Linked DNA regions of Homo sapiens: regions 1 and 3 are each linked to region 2. The links are contacts of gene promoters, found by promoter capture Hi-C in blood cells and fetal thymus (Javierre and others, 2016). All regions are on one chromosome and are shown on one strand. Each heading gives the region's core, a stretch centred on a gene start or on the middle of the fragment in contact. The rest is flanking DNA. Distances are from core to core; before and after follow the strand shown. Region 1 has its middle 11 kb from the start of ZNF175. Region 2 holds the start of CEACAM18 (CEA cell adhesion molecule 18). Region 3 overlaps ZNF175 (zinc finger protein 175).

Region 1 (4,133 bases), core at 424-2,923, 82 kb before region 2:
ATACATTCATCCAGAGATGCCTTATGCATGTGTATCTTCATCTACAAGTAAATATAAAAATTTCATGTGAGCATGCTTTTTTACACACAAAACATCCTTGATACACTGTTCTGCACCCTATTTTTTTTTTTTTGAGATGGAGTCTCACTGTGACACCCAGGCTGGAGTCCAATGGCACTATCTCAGCTCACTGCAACCTCCACCTCCTGGGTTCAAGTGATTCTCCTGCCTCAGCCTCCCGAGCAGCTGGGATTACAGGCACCCGCAACTACACCTGGATAATTTCTGTATTTTTAGTAGAGATGGGGTTTCATCATATTGGCCAGGCTGGTCTTGAACTCCTGACCTCAGGTGTTACACCCGACTCGGCCTCCCAAAGTGCTAGGATTACAGGCATGAGCCACCGTGCCTGGCCTATTTTTTTTAAATTTAATAATTTTTGGAGATCTTTTTATGCCAGTAAATAAAGAACTTCATTCTTTTTCACAACTACAAAATATTCCATTGCATATATGTCATTTGCTACTTATAAACACTGCTACAATAAATAATACTTACATATATTTTGCAAGGAAGCTAATATGTCTGTATAAATTTGAATTATTTGATCAAAGGGCACATGCATTACCAATTCTGAGAGGTGTGGCCACATGGCTTTTCCCGTGGTTGTACCATTTTGCAATCCCCACGTCCTCCCCAGCCCATGCAATGTGTTAGTTTTTGCCTCACTCCAACCTCAACAACCAAATACGTTAGCAATGATTTTGATTTTTCCATGACTACTGATAAAAAATGTACCGCACCATAGCTTTAATTGCATTTCTCTAGCTGGGCATGAAGGTGAGGTTTAATTGACATTAACATTGTCCGTTCTGTTGTGTTCTGCCATGCTATGAACTGTCTGTTCATACAATTTCCTATTGTCATTAGCTTGTGCTTATTTTCTTCATGATTTGGATGTTATTTTTATATTAGGAAATGCAACCACTAATCCATAATATAATTGCAAATGTCTTTTCCAGTATTTTTGTCATTGGTCAGAAAAGTTTGTCAATTTCATCATTCTCTCCTGATTTCATTTAGCTTGGATGTGCCATGGAAGTTTTGTTTTATGTAGTTGAGTTTGTAAGTCTTTGCTTGTAAATCTTTGTTTATCATTCTGGCTCTCCCGCCTCTGAGATTATATATAATGTACATAGTATACATAATGTATGTGTATATATACACAAACACATATTTATATTTATGTTTATATTTAATTTACATTTATATTTATATATAATCTTGCCAAAGGTTCCTCTTTTCACCCTGTTCTCCACATGATTATGCACATTTCTATCCTCTTCCCTTACAGGATTAATTTCCATTCCCTGAAACTCCAAGGCCATTTCTAGTCATAGTTGTCTTTGCACTGCTCTTCCTTTCTCCCAGCATGGTCTTCTGCTCCAATATTGTCCACTGTCTGTTTCCACTTGTCCATCTCACTCTTCTTAAGCCCCTCCTCCTCCAGGGAGACCTCCCTGACTTTCTGTCTTATTGTGTTGCTCACCCTCCTTCACCTGAGTCACTCCATCACATCACCTGTCATATTGCAGAGTGAAGATCTAGTCCTGGGCCTCTTATAACCATTAGACTGTGACACCCTCAGGAGCTGATACCCTCTCAGTAGTACCTCATTTAAACAAGGATCAGTAAAGGGCTGCAGATTGAATAAATAAATGATTAGACTTTAGGGTAACTGGAGATGTTGGTAAAGATAGCAGGAAAGAGGGTGTGGGAACTAGGGGGTGGCCAGGAGATCTTGACTGGGATTCTCATCAAGGACAAAGTCCTTTCCTCTATTCCTGTACCTCACGGAGTCTGCATCTAAACTAACAGAATAACGGAGAAGGGGAAGAGACCAAACTGCATCATGAAGGGGAAGGGGGACCCCTCTGTACATCTGAACCCAAGGCCTGCATGTGCCTCTCTTGGTATCTCTCTTGCTGAGTTTCTCTTCTCCCCTCTATTCCCAGCACCTGTAGCCTTGGAGAATGCCACCTCCCTGTCAGTCCTGAAGAACCAATCCCTGCGTTTTGTTTATGTGACTGACAGCAACCCACCTGCCAGGCTGAGCTGGACCTGGGAAGGCCAAGCCCTGAATCTCTCCCAGTCGTCAGAATCAGCCGTCCTGGAGCTGCCCCCAGTGGAGTCTTGTGATGGAGGGGAATTTGTCTGCCAAGCTCAGCACCCTTTGGGCTCCCAGCATGTCTCCATTAGCCTCTCTGTGCAGAGTGAGTCATTGGTGGGAAGAATGGACAGGGCACCTGGATTCTAGGATGGGACTGTGAGTGGGATGAGGTCTAGGAGAAACACTTTATTCCTCTCCTCCCCTTCAGGTGACTCCGTTATCTCTATAGAAGAAGGCGTTTTACAGACCCTGGGTTTCACACTGATTAGGGGAATCCTCATGGGGACCAGCTGCACATTCATCTGTGGATTCACCTGGATCTGCTGCACTAGGTGAGCAGTGCCTTGCTCAGATGACCCAGTCTCTGAGCCCCCAAATTCCAAGGAAAAGTGGCCTGGTCTGTCTTCCTCAGGGTGAGCTCTCTGCAGCCCTAACTGCTAACCTCCTCTTACATTTTCTCACAGGATCAGAGGGTCCCAGAGAAGCATGGCTGGGAGAGTGGACTGAACTGATCTCTCTCCTCTGGACATGGTGAGAAGATGGACATTGAAGTCCAGAGGAACAGAGCCCCTGTATCTCTTACTAAAGCCCACCTCTCTGCATCTTGAATCACTTGCTGACTTGGTTCATCCAGAAATAATCTCTGTCCAGTTTCATATCCTATCTCCTGAACTGTACTGCTGGGCGAGATGGATGGATGGATGGATGGATGGATGGATGGATGGATGGATGGATGAATGAATGATTGGATGGATGGATGAGTGGCTGGCTGGATAGTTGATGGTTGGATGGACCGTCCATGACTGCTCTGCTCTCAGAACCTTTCCTTGCACCTCCTCTACATTGCTATGTACTCCAGATACTTCCTCTGCCAGACCACATTTATCAGGCATCTTTATTAGCCAGCTTCCAACTAGGTTCAGATAATGAGAGGCTAATGCTGGAGATTAAAATACAGGAAGAAAATGGAGAAGCAGCAGCATTTATTTTTTCCCTTCTCTCTGAATTGTGCAATCTCTTTGGTAGTGGCAGCACCCTCTCTGAGCCTCCAGCACTCAGACTCGGAGTGCTCAGCACTCAGCCTCTGGGTGCCCCTGATTACTGGGCTCTGGTGCACTGCCCTTTCCCTCTGTCCTCTAGCCTAGAAGTGGTGGTGGTTTCCTGCTGTTGTTCATTTCTAGGTTGCCTGATTGTCCTCTGTTTAATTTTTCATCCCTAACATCAACTGCGTAATCAATTTCTGCCATTAAATGTCCTCTGTTTTAAATATTTATGTGATTTCTTTTTTAGTAATTGGACTTTAACTGATACATATGGACACATGAATGGATGGATAAATGGAAACACGGACACACAGATGGATGGATGGATGGATGGATGGATGGATGGATGGATGGGTTAATAAATAGGTGGGTGGGGATTCTACTCAATGAATGTAACCCTCTTACCAGCCTTGGGATTTTACCCCAGACTTTTTCATTCCTGGTCCATTTCCTAAGCATCATCATTCTCTCTTAGTCTTAAACATGTTTACTTGTGCAATCAGGAATTTGTAGGTCAAACTTATTTCAGTGTTATTTTGTGGGATATTCCTGCTCCTTCCAATTCCAATCTAACTTTTGTACTTCCTATGAGCATTAAAAGCTTTTATTTTATCATGAAGAAGGAGTTCGTCTCAGATCCACACTTTTGTGTTCCCACCTTTCTATTTCCCCATAACCAGCCCAGTTGTTTACTTTATGGCCACCATTGCCCACAATCTTAGATATACTTCTGCCTATTTGATGACTGAAAAATCTCATCCTGAAAATTCTGTCCCTTTAGGCTGGCTGGGTGTAGTCCTGAGTAATTGTGTTTTCTCCATTAACTTGACTGCATTTTCTTTATTCACCTCCCTTTAAATAAAATATTGCAGGATTCCTAAATTATCTCACAGTTTGTCTCTTAATGGATAATTTCATCA
Region 2 (4,226 bases), core at 1,727-4,226:
AGGCACATCATTCACATACCACGTGATGTTGGTGACATTTGTGAGGCAGTCAGCAGCCACAGAATCCATGTTCTCCACCAGGGAGCTGGCATTGACGGAGATGCCCAGATTGCTTCCCAACTCTGGGTGAAGCAGGAAAGAGAAAAAAATTACAAGTGGGGTCTGCTTCCCCAAGCTCTGCTCCTCTCCAGGGGACTTCTGGGCATGTTGGAGAGAAGCCAAGAGCTGTAAGATAAGATCTGGCATCCTGGCAAGGGAGCTGAGAAGGGCAGAGGAATAGGCACAGGGCAATGAGGCTGCTGAGGTGTGGGCCTTGCCTGAGCCACTGCCGTGCTGTCTGCTGCCATAATGGTGAGCTCTTGGCATAAACATGTGGCCTAATCATTGTTTCTGATCCTCCAAACCAGGACCCTCATCCAGGAGACACGAGAGGTTCTGAGTGAGAGGTGGCATTTGGCTACACAATACTACTCCATTATTTGAGTCCCATTCACTTTACGAATACTCCCTCCAACGCTACGACAAACCACAATGGTGGGTTCCTCCCCACTCTACAGATGAGGAAACTGAAGAACACAGAAGGAACACAAATGGGCCAGGGTCCTGCAGTATGTATTTGCAGCCACTGTCAAATACAGGACTGCTTGTCTTCCAACTCCGCCCTCTCCTCCCACTAGCCCTCAGATCCCCCAGGAGCTGTCCATGGTACACAAGATTCCAGGGCGGCTCCGTGATTTCCACTCCCGGTGTCATGCTCTGTATAATGTCCTTCTCTCAAATGTGTCACATCTAGCTCTCCTTGGGGGTTGGGAAACACAGCACCTGCTAACCCACCTAGAACCTCCAGCCAGCCGGTTGCTCTTTGGGTCTCATTGCCTGCAACCACCCGAACAGTGTAGTTTCCCGTGTCATTTAATGCAGTCGGCCTGATCAACAGGCTGCCTTCTCTGTTCACTCTCTCCCTGCCAGTGTACATGGGCCCAGGCTGCTGGGCACTGGGCGGTTTGTGGCTGATAATCATGTTTCCTGCGCTGTCGTTTGCACCCCAGTACCAGCTGTATTCCTGAACATCCTCAGGGACCTTATCCAGGGCCACGACAGTCCGATATCCCTTGATCCCCAGGGTTTGGGTGATGAAGATTTGGCCAGAGGCCTGGCAGATCCCACAGGCCAGCAGACTGGCTGAAGAAGACAAGGAAAAAAGACAGAGAGAAATTCACAAAGAGATTCAGACTGGCTGAGAAGACAAGGAAAAAAGACACCATCCGGGAACGATTCCCAGAGACGCTGGTGAACCAGGCAAGAGTTTCTGGCTCCTGGTAGAGTCCCCAGCTTGTCCCCTCCTGTGCCTCCCCTCAGCCCCTGCCGTGGTCCATTTTACCCTTATCTTCTCCCAGGCCCTCCTCGCTAGCCACACAGCCTCCAATCCATCCTCACATCACAGTTACGTAAATGTTAATAAGCCCAAGTTGCGACCCTGTTCTCCTCTGCTCAAACACCTTCCATGGCTCCCCAGTGCTCTTAGGATACAGTCCAAACTCTTAGGTGGGTATATGAAACACTCTCAGCCAGAGCTGGTGTTTGTGACTCATCGAGCCTCCTTGTGGTGCACACCTACCCCATCCTGTCCCCACTATGCACCTTTTACTCATTTATTCCTGTAGTTATTTATCAGAAGACATGACTGCCACGCTGTATGCCCCAGGCCTCTACATAGCTCTCTTGGTGCACCACACCTTCTCCTAACTCCAGGCTTCGCACACGCTGTTCCCCATTCCCGGCAGGGACTCCTTCTCCCTCCTCTCCATCTGCACCCTCCTTGCTGACTCACTTCTATTCATCACTCAGGTCTCAGCTTGGATGTCTCCTCCACCCCAGCCTGGGTCAGGTGTCCCCTCTGGGCTCCCCCAGCTCCTCCTGGGCTCCCCCCATCCCAGCCATGACCTCTGGGGGTCCTCAGAGTCTGGGCACATATCTATATCTCGCCCTGGACTGTGGGCTCCAGGAGGGCAGGACTGCCCTGTCTCAGTCACCACTGAGTCCCCAGCGCCCCTGAGCACAGGCTGGACACAGGGGGAGTTCAGTAATGATTGTCTGGGTGAGAAATACTCCCCCGAGAATTTCTACATGTCTTTGATTTTGCATCTAAATTCACTGGAGTGGGTGTGAATGGAGGCGGCAGCCTGTTACCACATATGACATGGGCAGTTGTCCACTGCCCTGTGAACCCCAAGCCTGGGCTATGTGGAGGAGGCAGAGATGCCTGAGACCCCGGCTCTAGGCCTCACGTATGGACACACTGGACCTGTTCAAGGACAGTACACGTGGTAAAGCAGGACAGTTGTGCTTGTAGGGGGCACAGAAGGTCCTGGGCAAAGGTGAGGGGCTGGGAAGGAATCTGGCCTGAGAGGTGGGGGAGGGGATGGGGCAGATTGGGGCACCCAGTGGGAGGTGAGTGCAGGGAGGTGAGGGTGAAGGTCCAAGCTCCTGATTCCTGGGCGTAGATAGAAACACAGTTTCTCTCTCTCTCTCTCTGTGTGTGCGCGCGTGTGTGTGTGTGCATGTGCGTGTGCGTGTGTGTGTAACACCACATGTGTGGGTCTGTGCAGGGGTGTGTCTAGGGGCAAAGTGTGCCCACGTGTGTGAGCTCATGAAAGTTGTGCTGAGGGTCCTCCCCCTTCTCCTCTCCCCGACCCCTGCTCTGGGAGTTTCTTGATGTGCCCGTGGATGGGGATGGTCCCAGCCCCCTCCCCGCCGCTTTGCTCCTAGCTGCCCTTCCCTCAGTCCTGGGAAGCTCATCCAGCATCCAGCATCTCTTACCCATGAGGAAGACCCTCCTCCACAGGCTCCATCTGGGTCTGGAAAGGTCCATGAGCTGCCTGGGGTCCTCCAGGAGGAGGGGTCCCTCCAGAGACACAGCCACCTCCTCTGCTCCCTCCAAGACCTGTGTCTCCTGGCACAGAGGCTGCCGGTCTCGTCTCCCAGCCTTCAGGGCGGCCTTTCCTCCCCAGGGTGCACTCTGACCAGCAGGGGTGGGGCCTGGGGAAGACGGCTCTTGAGAGCCCAACCTTATCTTTATGGCTTTATGTTGCCTTTAGTTCATTATTTATTTACTTATTTTTATAATAATTTACATTTTTTTCTCTGGTCATGAAAAAACGGAAAAACACAGGCTCACTGTTGGGAAAACAAAGAAAACCAGAAAATACAGCCAAGTGCCTCAAAGATAGGACATCAAACTCCTCAACTGTATGTCCTGTTTCCATTTGGTTTGGTTTTCCTATGCAGGGCCCAGCTTTTTTTTTTTTTTTTTTTTTTTCACGGAGTCTCGCTCTGTCACCAGGCTGGAGTGCAATGGCATGATCTTGGCTCACCGCAACCTCGTCTTCCGGGTCCAAGTGATTCACCTGCCTCAGCCTCCCGAGTAGCTGGGACTACAGGCTCGTGCCACCACACCCAGCTAATTTTTGTGTTTTTAGTAGAGACGGGGTTACATCATGCTGGCCAGGATGGTCTTGATCTCTTGACCTCGTTATCCGCCCACCTCGGCCTCCCAAAGTGCTGAGATTACAGGTGTGAGCCACCGTGCCCGGTGTAGGGCCCAACTTTTAGACTGCCTGGGGCTGTTTTACAACTGGCTGCTTTCCTCCTCAACAGTGGACTATTTCTCTATGTCACTAAATATTCCTCCCATGACCATTGTGAATGGCTGCAGGGAATGCTCTTCTAGACCTGAACCAGTGTGTGTATAACCAGATCCCTTTGTGAAAGTGCTCACAAGCCAAAAAAATCCCTGAGAAATACAGTGGGGAAGGCTGTGAAGCGAGGGCTCTCTGACAACAAAAATTTTCACAGAAGACGCTGCAGAAACCATAGTCTTGCACAAAAGCCATTGCTTCCTTCCACCAAAAAAATACTTCTGTGACAAGTATTTGGACAGCAACCTCCGGTCCAAACTTGGACTGACGTCACCCTCATTAGGGATCCTTGTAGCCTAGGGTAATTATCTCAAACCATTTATGGGGTCCTCCTCATTTTTCCATTGAAAACCCTTTGTGTTCTTTTACCTCCCTGAATATGCACGTAGTTTACTATAGCACCCAGATTCCCATTGCAATGCCCCATTCCTGAATACATATCATTTTCTTTTAGAGAGCTTCTCTCTGTTTGTTATTTAGGTTGACACTTTGTTGTTGGAGGGTCAGGCTGTTTCTAAAAACAGGGAT
Region 3 (4,465 bases), core at 791-3,290, 110 kb before region 2:
TTTCCACATTTGCCACATTCATGGAGGTTTCCTACACTATGAATTCTCTGTTGGGCAAAGAGGTGTGACTTCTGGGTGAAGCTCCCCCCACATTCAGAACATCCATCTGGTTTCTTCTGAGTATGAATTTGATGTTGCTTGAGTGACTGTTTATGGCCACAGACTTTTCTACACTGGTTACCTTTGCAAAATGTCTCTCCTGTATGAATATTCTTGCTGCAGGCATCAGAAGAGCTATGGCTGAATAGCTGACCAGACCCAACAACGTCATCAAGCTGTTCTGTGTCATTGCTTTCATTCTGACCGTTCACTTCTAGGTTCAGCTTCAAACTTTCTGTAAATAAGCAACATTTCTGAGGTTGTTTCTGTGAAGAAGCAAGGTGGGGCCTCGTGCGAATCATTTTCCCAGGGTCCTTATATTCACAATTGCTTTCTGTGTTCAATGTTTTCTTGTTGAAGAAAGCACTGTGACTCATGGGTTGAATTTGATTTTGCTCATCTTTCTTTGTGCGGTCAGCATCCAGCCTCAGTTCTTCTAAAATGGAACACCATGAACCATCTCTTGTGAACTCACCTACCATATCCTTTTGAAATGAAGCTTTCTTAGAAATCTCCTTTTGTGGGATTTCAAGCCCAAACTCCCTTTCTAAAAGGAGAAAGAGAAGATGAAATAGACACAATGAACAAGAAAGAGGAGAAACTGCATGAAGCTGATTGACACAGAACACAAGGAAATTGCTGAGTCATGTAATAATGCTGCTAATGATGCTGACAATGAGCAGAAACACAGAGCCCTTATTACATGATGAGCATTTATCTACATAGCACTTAGCATGTGCCAGGCAGTGGCCTACATGGTGCACACATACTCATTTAATCTGCATAATAACCTCAGGAGGTAGCGATGATGGGTGTTCCTGTTTTACAAAGAAAAGGAAGCACATAATGGTTATGTAATTGGCCAAGATCACTTTGCTAATCTGTGGGGATTAGATTTCAACAACCTGAGGACACTTATGCAAGTGGTCTAGACACCCAGATCTAGTAGGATGAGTAGGATAAAACAGACAAGTGTTGCAGGGCAACATGTGTGGGCAGCCAAGGCTTGAAGGAGGGGGCTCAGTGTGTAGGTCTTCATTAACTTTCAGAGATGAATCCTCACCAATCTGCCTGCTTTATCTTACTTGTTAGAAACAATGCCAAGTCCATCAGCCCTGTATATCCTTCTGAAAACTATTAAAGCTTCACCTATCTTGACATGGCCAACCAGTGAAAGAATGACTATGCCTCAACTCTCCTATGCCTCAACTCTCCATGAAGCTACAATTTTTTTTTCTTGAACTTAGGAATATACCCATATCCCCAGAAATATATTCTAAAAGACTGGACAAGCAAGCTGTTCCCCAGAATTTGTTTCACCCTTGTTCCATTGAAATTAATTGTTCTTTGTTAGAACTTTTGGCTTTATGCTATCAAATATGCCTTTTTTAGTTTAGTTTTTTGTTTTGTTTTGTTTTTTTGCCAAGAATAAGAGTCCCTGATCATCCTGTGCACTTTACTAGTATACTGCACAAAACACAGCAGGTTCTCAATAAAAATAATAGTTACTAAATTTTACTATTACTTTTTCTACCAGATTTTAATACTGAGTATGAACATCACATGTAGTTTCTTTTCGCTTTCAGTCACTTAAACTGTATCCCAGACTCTTGTCCTATCAAAAAAACTCAATCATCTTTCATTCTTTTTTTAAAAAAAGGACACTTTTAATCTTTATTGTTAACTTTTTCTTATTGTAGCAAAAGTGCATAATATTACATTTACCATCTTGCCCATTTTGTATTGTACAGTTCAGTAGTGCTACCTGTATTCACCCTGTTGTGCAATGGATCTCCAAAACTTTTACATCTTGCAAAACTGAAATGCTGTATCCATTAAACAATTTCCCTTTTCCCCCATCCCTCATTCTCTGGCAGCCACAATCTTATTCTGTCTCTATGAATTGACTACTTAAAGTACCTCATACAGGTAGAATGATACATTTGGATTTTTTGTGTCTGGCTTATTCACTTAGCATCATGATAAGATTCATCCGCACTGCAACATGTTTCATAATTCCTCTTCCTTTTTAAGGCTGAATAATATTTCATTGTATGTATAGACCACATTTTGTTTACCAATTCATTGGTCAATGGACAATTCCACTTTTTGGATATTGTGAATAGTGCTGCTATGAACAAGAGTGTACAAACAGCTGTTTGGGTCCTTGCTTTCAATTCTTGTGGGTATCTACCCAGAAGTGGAGTTGCTGGATCATATGGTAATTTTATGTTTAATTTTTGAGAAATCATCATCCTGTTTTCCATAGGACTACACCATTTTACATTCCCACTAGTAATACACAAGGATTCCAGTTTCTCTATATCCTTGCCAACACTTGTTATTCTGTTTTTTTAATTGTAGCCATTCTAATGGATGTAAAGGGATATCACCCAGTGGTTTTGATTTGCATTTCCCACATAATTAGTGAAGTTGAGCATTTTTTCCTATTATTGGCCACTTGTATATCATCTTTGAAGACATGTCTATTCACATCCTTTTCCCACTTATTAAAATAGGTTGTTTTCTATTTCATTTTTCACTCTTAAATAGCAATTTTACCCATATACAGGTGGTCATTTATTCTGGCAATCTTCCACTGTGTCCCCAGGCAGCGATCTGAAACATTTTTAACTTCTCACTTTATTCAGGTCATAAAAATCTTGCTGAACCTGGTAACACTTAAATTACTGCCCAAAATGTTCAATGTAAACTATCAGAACTGTACTGAAAAGCTTTTCCACAACTCTCCAACACAGCCTAACAATGTCGATTGCAAAAAAGAAGTCCAATTTATTCTCAAATCCAAGCACACTCTCATGTCCTCTATTCCCATTAAGCTTGCTTCATCTGCTTCTTTGTTTCAATTCAAAATGGCTTCTTGAACCAGTTATAGGTACTATGCCCTTAAAATTAATTCCCAATGTCACTCCACCTCTAGGCTGACATCATTTTTCTGAACTTCACCAGCATTTGCTATCCATGCTTCCCATGTTGATACACTTACTTTTTGAGTAGCCTTCCATGAAATAGACATGATTGATGCACAAAGGCTAATACTTTTAACATTTAATGCCATTGTCCTCTCCATCCAAATACAATCTCCGTTCTTTTGAATTTATCTCAGCAAATATTTAAAGCATCCTTTTAAAATACTGTGAAATATTCTTTTCTGCCCATTTTCAGAAAATCAGTAATTTCTGTATCCTAAATACAAAAATCCTAATCCTATATCTTAAATACAATGGTTTCCTCATGCTAAACATTGATATAATGAAGATTAAGAAAGTACAAAGTAATCAGCAGAGTGTATGCAAAGTGAATCATTCTATGGAGTAGACATTAAACAACATACAAAAACAATGGAGCAGAGCATGAGTGATGAAAACTATTCAGGTATATTTTTAAATTGGAAATATGTGGCCATGAGGACAATATCACTGAAAAGAATTTGTTAATCCTACACAGTAGGAAATAGAACTGCCTGTTTTTATCATATCTACTGAGGAAAAAAGAAACAAAATAGCCATGTTTGGGGTCATAAAATCTGTCAGTATCTTGACTAAACTCAAAAACCTGAAATCAACATATCTCACTGGGAACAAAATTGTCTAAATATGAGAAAATGGGGATCTAGTTTGTTGTAATACCACTGGGATTAAGAAAAAGGGTCACTTTTTTCTTAATTAAAACAAGAAAAACTGGTAAGAATTCCAAAGTAATAAATTAAATTAGAGGACTGTGTTTCTGAGCCCAGAAACAGAAAAATCTCACAAAATTTATCAGGTGAGAATTCCTTATTTGGATGATGATGATTCCAATTTCTGATCTCCCAAAATTAAGGAAGTGAGTCATCTCATGGGAACTGTCCTCCGTGGAGCTAAGTAAGGTAGCAGAACACAGTTTAAGCACAGGGACTAGAGGTACTGATATATAAATCATTAGAATAAAAATATGAGGACTAAGAGTTCAGAATGGATGGGTCCTTTAAGTCAATTCCTGTGGGAAAAGATGCCCATAGCCGGGCACGGTGGCTCACGCCTGTAATCTCAGCACTTTGGGAGGCCAAGCCAGGCGGAACACCTGAGGTCGGGAGTTCGAGACCAGCCTGACCAACAAGGAGAAACCCCGTCTCTACTAGAAATACAAAATTAGCCGGGCATGGTGGTGCATGCCTGTAATCACAGCTACTTGGGAGGCTGAGGCAGGAGAATCACTCAAACCTGGGAGGCGGAGGTTGCGGTGAGCCAAGATCGTGCCATTGCACTCCAGCCTGGGCAACAAGAGTGAAACTCTGCCTCAAAAAAAAGAAAAGATGCCCATATGGAAGAACAGGGCCCCAAGCTAGAGGTGCCACAACTGGGAG

What was found. Contacts are between HindIII fragments. The CHiCAGO score rates a contact against its expected background, and 5 or more counts as called.
Region 1: a fragment that was not itself captured here is called in contact with the fragment with the promoter of CEACAM18 in region 2 in 3 of 17 cell types (megakaryocytes, erythroblasts and monocytes); the score reaches 6.7 in megakaryocytes.
Region 3: a contact is called between a fragment that was not itself captured here and the fragment with the promoter of CEACAM18 in region 2, in 7 of 17 cell types (megakaryocytes, M2 macrophages, erythroblasts and 4 more). The highest score is 11.1, in megakaryocytes.

The regions. Positions count from the first base shown.
Region 1 is chr19:51,558,489-51,562,621 of GRCh38, reverse strand. No RefSeq gene overlaps it. Among named protein-coding and RNA genes, the nearest start is that of ZNF175, 11 kb to the left of the region's middle. The HindIII fragment of the contact is 4,287 bases long and covers 1-3,816 here.
Region 2 is chr19:51,477,289-51,481,514 of GRCh38, reverse strand. CEACAM18 (CEA cell adhesion molecule 18) reads right to left here and starts at 2,976. Exons shown (of 6, transcript NM_001405061.1): 1 at 2,821-2,976; 2 at 835-1,182; 3 at 1-122. The coding sequence starts at 2,872. The HindIII fragment of the contact is 9,749 bases long and covers 1-4,226 here.
Region 3 is chr19:51,582,808-51,587,272 of GRCh38, reverse strand. It overlaps ZNF175 (zinc finger protein 175), which reads right to left. Exons shown (of 5, transcript NM_007147.4): 5 at 1-646. Among named protein-coding and RNA genes, the nearest start is that of LINC01530, 9.3 kb to the left of the region's middle. The HindIII fragment of the contact is 1,592 bases long and covers 1,245-2,836 here.